2 separate regions of the Homo sapiens genome follow, and region 2 is linked to region 1. The links are contacts of gene promoters, found by promoter capture Hi-C in blood cells and fetal thymus (Javierre and others, 2016). All regions are on one chromosome and are shown on one strand. Each heading gives the region's core, a stretch centred on a gene start or on the middle of the fragment in contact. The rest is flanking DNA. Distances are from core to core; before and after follow the strand shown. Region 1 holds the start of MAP2K4 (mitogen-activated protein kinase kinase 4). Region 2 overlaps ELAC2 (elaC ribonuclease Z 2).

Region 1 (2,742 bases), core at 154-2,653:
GGGTGGGCTACTGATTTCCAGATGGGAATCTGGCCATGTTTATAAGACCTGGACTTGAAGATATTGGGCAGCCAACGAGGCCCATGGAGGAGAATTCTGGCGGGCTCTCCACTGAAGTACACCTACCTGCTCTCACCTTCAATTTGCCTTTAATGCCTCTCCACTTGATGTTTACGGCTAGCCACTTTTAGGATCTGAGCCATCAAGATGATGGATGAAATTGGGTTTGGAACAAGAAGGCAGGGCTATTTTGACCCAGGACACATTTCCAACATGCTGTGAAGAACTCTCAGCATCAAATAACATCTGGGTGGAAGAAGTTTTGGGAAAGAAGTCTAGCTGTAGATCACACAATGCTTCTAAATGGGAGAAAATGTCCAGCTCCATGGCTTAGATTCTTTGGGAAGTAGGATAACTGGCTATTCCATTTTAGGCAAGGCTGCCTGGCCAGAAACCCATGTCTTACCATTTCGAGTACATTATGGTTGGCTTACAAATCGTAGCCTCATAGAGAACTTTTTCTTCTTTTAGCTACTGTCTTCCTAAAATAAAAGTCTCTGTGCAAAGCAATGGAAGAAACCTCATATTGTTTTTTGGGGTTGTCATTTTATGTAACTTACAATAATGACTACGGCTCGTCTTATACAAGATGTAAAGGATTTGGGAGAGGGAATCCAGTGTGCATTTAGGGGAAGATGGTGATGTAGATAGCATATTTCAGGAGGCTGGGAAGTGTCGAGTGCTTAAATATATGCTTCTCAAATTTAATGGGCATACAAATTACCTGGTGGTATTATTAAAATGTAACCTCTAATTCAGTAGTTTTGGGATGGGTCCATGGACAGCACTTTGGTTAGTTCCCCTTGGGACTCCCCTTTCCCCTCAGAGAAGTGTAGAGGGTTGGGGTATTGGGCTTAAGAGGAGTTCCAGACTGTAACCATAGCTCTAGGTAACTCCCTTCTGGAAGTGATGTGTTAGCGACTGGAGGAGAAAGGGATCCCTGGGATCCTTTTCAGCTTTACTATTCTGATTTGGGGTTCTGAGATTCCAACAAAGTGGACTTTTGGGAGTCACAGACCTCCATGGGAATGATGAAAGCTGCGTACCTTCTTTCCGCACAAATGCAGGCCCACCTTTAATTCTGCAAACCACTTTAGGCCCCGCGGGCCCGCAGCCCTGGTCCAAGACAGCTGTCTGCTTCACAGGTCGCGCACCCAGAGCCGGGCGGTTCTGCAGCTCAGCATCTGGCCCGGGCTGCGCGTCGGGCTCTGGCGGGGGCGTGTCAGGAGGCGTGTCCGGGGCGTGTCGGAGGCGGGGCCAAGGCGGGGGTAAGCCTCGCCCCTCGGCCGTGCGAGAGGCCGAGCTTGCTGCATTGCAGCCGCCGCGGCGCCGCTCGGCTCTTCACTCCCAACAATGGCGGCTCCGAGCCCGAGCGGCGGCGGCGGCTCCGGGGGCGGCAGCGGCAGCGGCACCCCCGGCCCCGTAGGGTCCCCGGCGCCAGGCCACCCGGCCGTCAGCAGCATGCAGGGTAAGGAACGCGGCCGCGCCGAGATCCCAGCCCCCTAGCGCGGCAACCCGCGTCGTCGCGGCCTGCCCCAGCGGACGCCCCCGGACCCGGCTGAGGAAGCCACGGCAGCCGCCGGCTTCTCCCTCTCTCCCTCCCCGGCTTCCCGCCCCGCTCCCGGCCGCCTCCGGCCCGGCTTGGATCCGGGCTCCGGCCCGCATAGGCCCCGGCCGCGGCCTCTGCCTGCGCTTGGCCCCTGGGCCCTACCGGGCTCTCAGCAGGCCCGCAGGGCCCACCTGGTCCGGGACCGCCCCCGCGGCCGTCCCCATCGCCCCCGCCGCTTACCTGGCGCCCGCCCGGCCCCCGTTTCCGGGAACGCGCCGGCTCGGGGCTGCGGCGGAGCGGGAGGGGCGTCGGGCCTGCCCCCTGGTCCCTGACGCCGCTCAGGTAGGCGGCGAAGACAGCGGCCCCGGCCGGCGCCCCTCGGCCCCGCCGCCGCAGTGGGCCCCGCTCAGGGCCATCTTGGCTGTCGCCGGGCACAGCTGGAGCCGGACCACCGAGCTGACCTCGGGCTACGGGGGCCTCTTGGAACCTGCGTTTTCAAACTTTTGCAGGGTTTCTGTGCGCTGGAAGGGATGGGGGTGGGGGGCGGGTTGCCCAGGCCTGTGCCACCTGTAAGGTAGGTAGGCTGCATTGGCCTGGGAGAGGCATTTTGTTCCAGGCCAGGGATTTCTGTGTTAGCATTGCGTGCAGGAAGAAAAAAAAAAAAAAAAAAAAAGAAGACTTAATTTGGTTTAAATGGAGAGATACAGGAAATAGACAGGGGTCAAAGTGATACTGTAGTGTCTGGACATTTGAGGCAGCTCTGCTAATTAATGACTTTCCCCACTGGGAATGCTTATTAGCTGTGTATGGCTTTTGACAGGGGGTGTTGTGAAAATACCAGGCCAGGCCCGAGCCTGTTAGGGACCATTTCCTTAAATTTACTGGGGAATTTTGAGTAGTAATGCTATTTTTAAAACAGGGAATCTCAGAACTCTCTTGACAACTTTAGCAAACTGCTTGTGTTGAATTATTAACAGAATAAGGGTTGGGGTACCCTTGGTAGTCAGTGTGACCATGGTTACTTTTTGATTCCATTCCTCTTAAAGGGCTTCTAGCATTTAGTTAGGTTCAACAGACATTTATTGAATAGTTCATGTTTATAGAGCATGCCATAATTCAGAAAGAAGAGACAG
Region 2 (3,100 bases), core at 601-3,100, 980 kb after region 1:
GAAACCCAGCAGGTGAATGCTGCCTCCGGCTCAGGCAGCACGGGCCACGGATGGCTCCAGCAGAGGGGACTCCTTCCCCTTGGGGTGAGGATGGTGCCACCTGCCAGCTAGCCACACACCTGCTATGGACATTCTCTGTGCTAGCCACTATTTGGGTGCTTGGCTCTGGAACTGTCTCATCAAGAAAAGCTGCTCGAAGTTTAGAAAGCAGCTCAGAACTCAAATGAGGACTGGGAAGAAATGCTTCTAAGAAAATAAGCATTACATGGGAACTATCTAATGGTTTCTGTCCTTCAGCCAATGCACTTCTCCCCTGCTTCTGCCATCTGGGACCATGTCAAGGGCAAGGCTGCTGGGGGATATTGGTAACTACCCCAGTGTCCACCTTGAGCTTCTGAAGGAGACGGCAGCAAGCAACAGCCCAGCGGGCCAGGCTGCCCTGGATGCTCACCTGATGTGGTGCAGGACCTCCTGGCACTGGTTGTGGTACTGCTGGAGCCAGGCTTTGAGCTGGTTGGGGGCAACCACCAGCAAAGGGTGAAGCGGCTTTCCCAAAGATGCCTGGAACAAAAAATGCAAGTGCCGACTCGACGACAGAACATCTCAATAAAAACTGGAGTGCCAAGAGGCATGGCGGATGATGTGTAAACCGCTGAAACTCAGAACGCCCATCAAGTGCCACACTTACCAAGGCGCGTTCTCTCTGCAGCAAGATACTTGGCAAGCCCTGGCAAGGAAACAGGAGACATGCGTCAGCCAGGCCCCAGGGCCATCCCCTCCGGGTTAGGGTCTGCAGCCCTCTCTCTTGCAGGAGTTGCCAGCCCGACGTCACCCACCAGCCTCTAACACAGCCGCAGTGGGGGTGGCACAGGCCGAGCCCCCTGCGCCATGGCCCTGAAATGTCACAGGCAGAAAGCGACACGACCCGTGCTGGGAAGAGGGCAACGGCCCAGGGCCCGGCACCCCAGGAGACCAAGGTGAGGGTCTCATAGCCACACCTCCTGCATCCGGTCAAAGCTTCCGCTGAGCAGGCCGTGTGAGATTCAAGACTCAAGGAAGGCTGGGTAAACTCAAACCTGTCCTGCTGCAGGAAAGGAACTGAACAGGAAGAGAAGACATTCTTGTGGCGCAGAAGGACTATGTTGAGTTTTGCAAAAAACCATTTCCTAGCCAGAGATGAGTAACAAAAGCTCTGGGCAAGTTTGGAAGCGGAGGAAAAGACGCAGCCAAAGGGCCAACTCAACGTGGCAGTGCCTCCTCCAGGCTCCAGCTTTGTGGTCCAGCCCAACACTCACCGTGTGGTGATCTGCGTGCAGGTGGGACACAAACACAGCAGCCAGGGTGCCCAGGACCCTGTCCACCTGGTCTCCGTAATGACGGCACAGCTGCCCAAATGTGCCCTCACCACAGTCCAGTAGCAGAGACGTGTCGGGGCTGCAGAAGAGAAGAGGAAGAGAGTCACTGCCACTAGGAAGACTGCTGATGGTTCAGAGGCTGATGTCTGCTTTGGACAGGACCAAGAAGCAACTGCAGAAATTTCTGTCTCTCCTGCTTTGCTTTGAGGAGCTAATATAAAAGCCAATTAATTTAACCATAAAGGTGATTTTACATGTGTCATCCTCTTTATAGCAAAGAAGTATCCATGGAACCCTGAAACCCTTTCAAGTAGACTTACACAAAGGCTGGGCATCAAAAAAAAAAAAAAAAAGTTTATAGGAGGCTTAAAGCATTTAGTCCTAACAATGAATCTGACCATGCAGATTGACTGTGGCCACAGCCTCTGTTGAAAATACCAGGACAGGCACTGGGCCATATGAGACTCTTTCTAGGTCCAGCTGCCATCGGACTTTTCCCCCTTTGCAAGTGGTCGGGGTTTCCTCAGCTCATGTCCTCAAAGACACCTGGTGCAGGGCGGGCTGCAGGTGCTTCATTCAGGGAGCCAGTTAACGCAGACTCCCAGGTGTCACTCGGGGTTTCTGACTTGGTTTTAGGCAGGGCTCTGGAAGTCTGGATTCTGACAAACTTCTTGGGCTATTCTGCTGTGCAGTCCATTTCAGAAGCTCTGCTCCAAGGCAGAGAGAGTGCTGACCCGCTCTGGCCTCCTTCATTCTCTGGGAGGAGCCACGAACACTGAGAGGGCTGCACCCATTTTGCAGAGAGAAGCCCCGGTGCTAAGACATTACCTTCTGGGGGAAAAAGGAGTCGGGAGGCGGAGGCAAGGTGGCAATAGCACCTTCCCATTAGCTTCAGCTGGTTCAAAAGCTGCTCGCAGGGTGTCAGGTCAAACTCAAAAAGCCCTTCTTCCCCCAGGATCTCAGCCCCCGGGAGAGGCCGGCTCACTCCAAGCTGCTTTATTGCATGTCCTCATCCACAGAGAAACACACCCCAGATTGTATATTTCTGATGTCAGGGCACATCTCGTCACTGCTGTATATATTTAATGCACTATTTGGTTGTTTATCATCCACCACTAGCATGTAAGATGGCAGAGCAAAATTTAAAACAAACCTGGTAATTCACAATCTTATTTTCTTCACATACTATCTGTAGAGATAACGTGTACATGTCACAACGCATTTGACTAATCTCTCTGCTGATGACCCCAGGCAAACCCAAGAGAATCAACTAAAAAACATGTCAAGGGGAATCCAATAAAGGTTCTGAACACAAATGTGCAAAACCCTAAAGCTTTTTAACATACTACCAACAAATGGCTGGGGGACAATACCATGTAGCAATCAAGACCCCAAGTCCCCGCTCAAACTTCAGATGCCCCACTTACCAGCTGTAGGAACCATAGCAAGTCACCTCTCTGAATATCAGGTCACTCATCAACAAAATGGGTAGTTATTCACCACTTCATAGGATTAATGTAAAAATTAAAGGAGCTAATTTCTTAGCTAGGTGTACTGCCCACAGTAAAATCAGCTGTTTATTAAAAGACATCATGGGATGAATTTTGGTGATTCCCAGGGTAAAGTTTGCTACTGAGGCTATAAAATGCAGTAAGGCCACGCTCCTCTCCTGGACACTCCAGTCGACATGACAAGTGACAGGGCTTGATACCGCATTTCAAATCGACTGGTGAGTACAGCAGGAC

The links. Contacts are between HindIII fragments. The CHiCAGO score rates a contact against its expected background, and 5 or more counts as called.
Region 2: a contact is called between a fragment that was not itself captured here and the fragment with the promoter of MAP2K4 in region 1, in 1 of 17 cell types (M0 macrophages). The highest score is 8.2, in M0 macrophages.

What each region holds. Positions count from the first base shown.
Region 1 is chr17:12,019,474-12,022,215 of GRCh38, forward strand. It overlaps MAP2K4 (mitogen-activated protein kinase kinase 4), which reads left to right and starts at 1,404. Exons shown (of 11, transcript NM_003010.4): 1 at 1,404-1,528. The coding sequence starts at 1,414. It also overlaps a transcript of ZNF18 not described here. RefSeq lists an enhancer at 1,204-1,704 and a silencer at 1,241-2,120. The HindIII fragment of the contact is 6,257 bases long and covers 1-2,742 here.
Region 2 is chr17:12,995,252-12,998,351 of GRCh38, forward strand. It overlaps ELAC2 (elaC ribonuclease Z 2), which reads right to left. Exons shown (of 24, transcript NM_018127.7): 17 at 1,296-1,434; 18 at 689-727; 19 at 452-561. Among named protein-coding and RNA genes, the nearest start is that of ELAC2, 21 kb to the right of the region's middle. The HindIII fragment of the contact is 1,671 bases long and covers 1,016-2,686 here.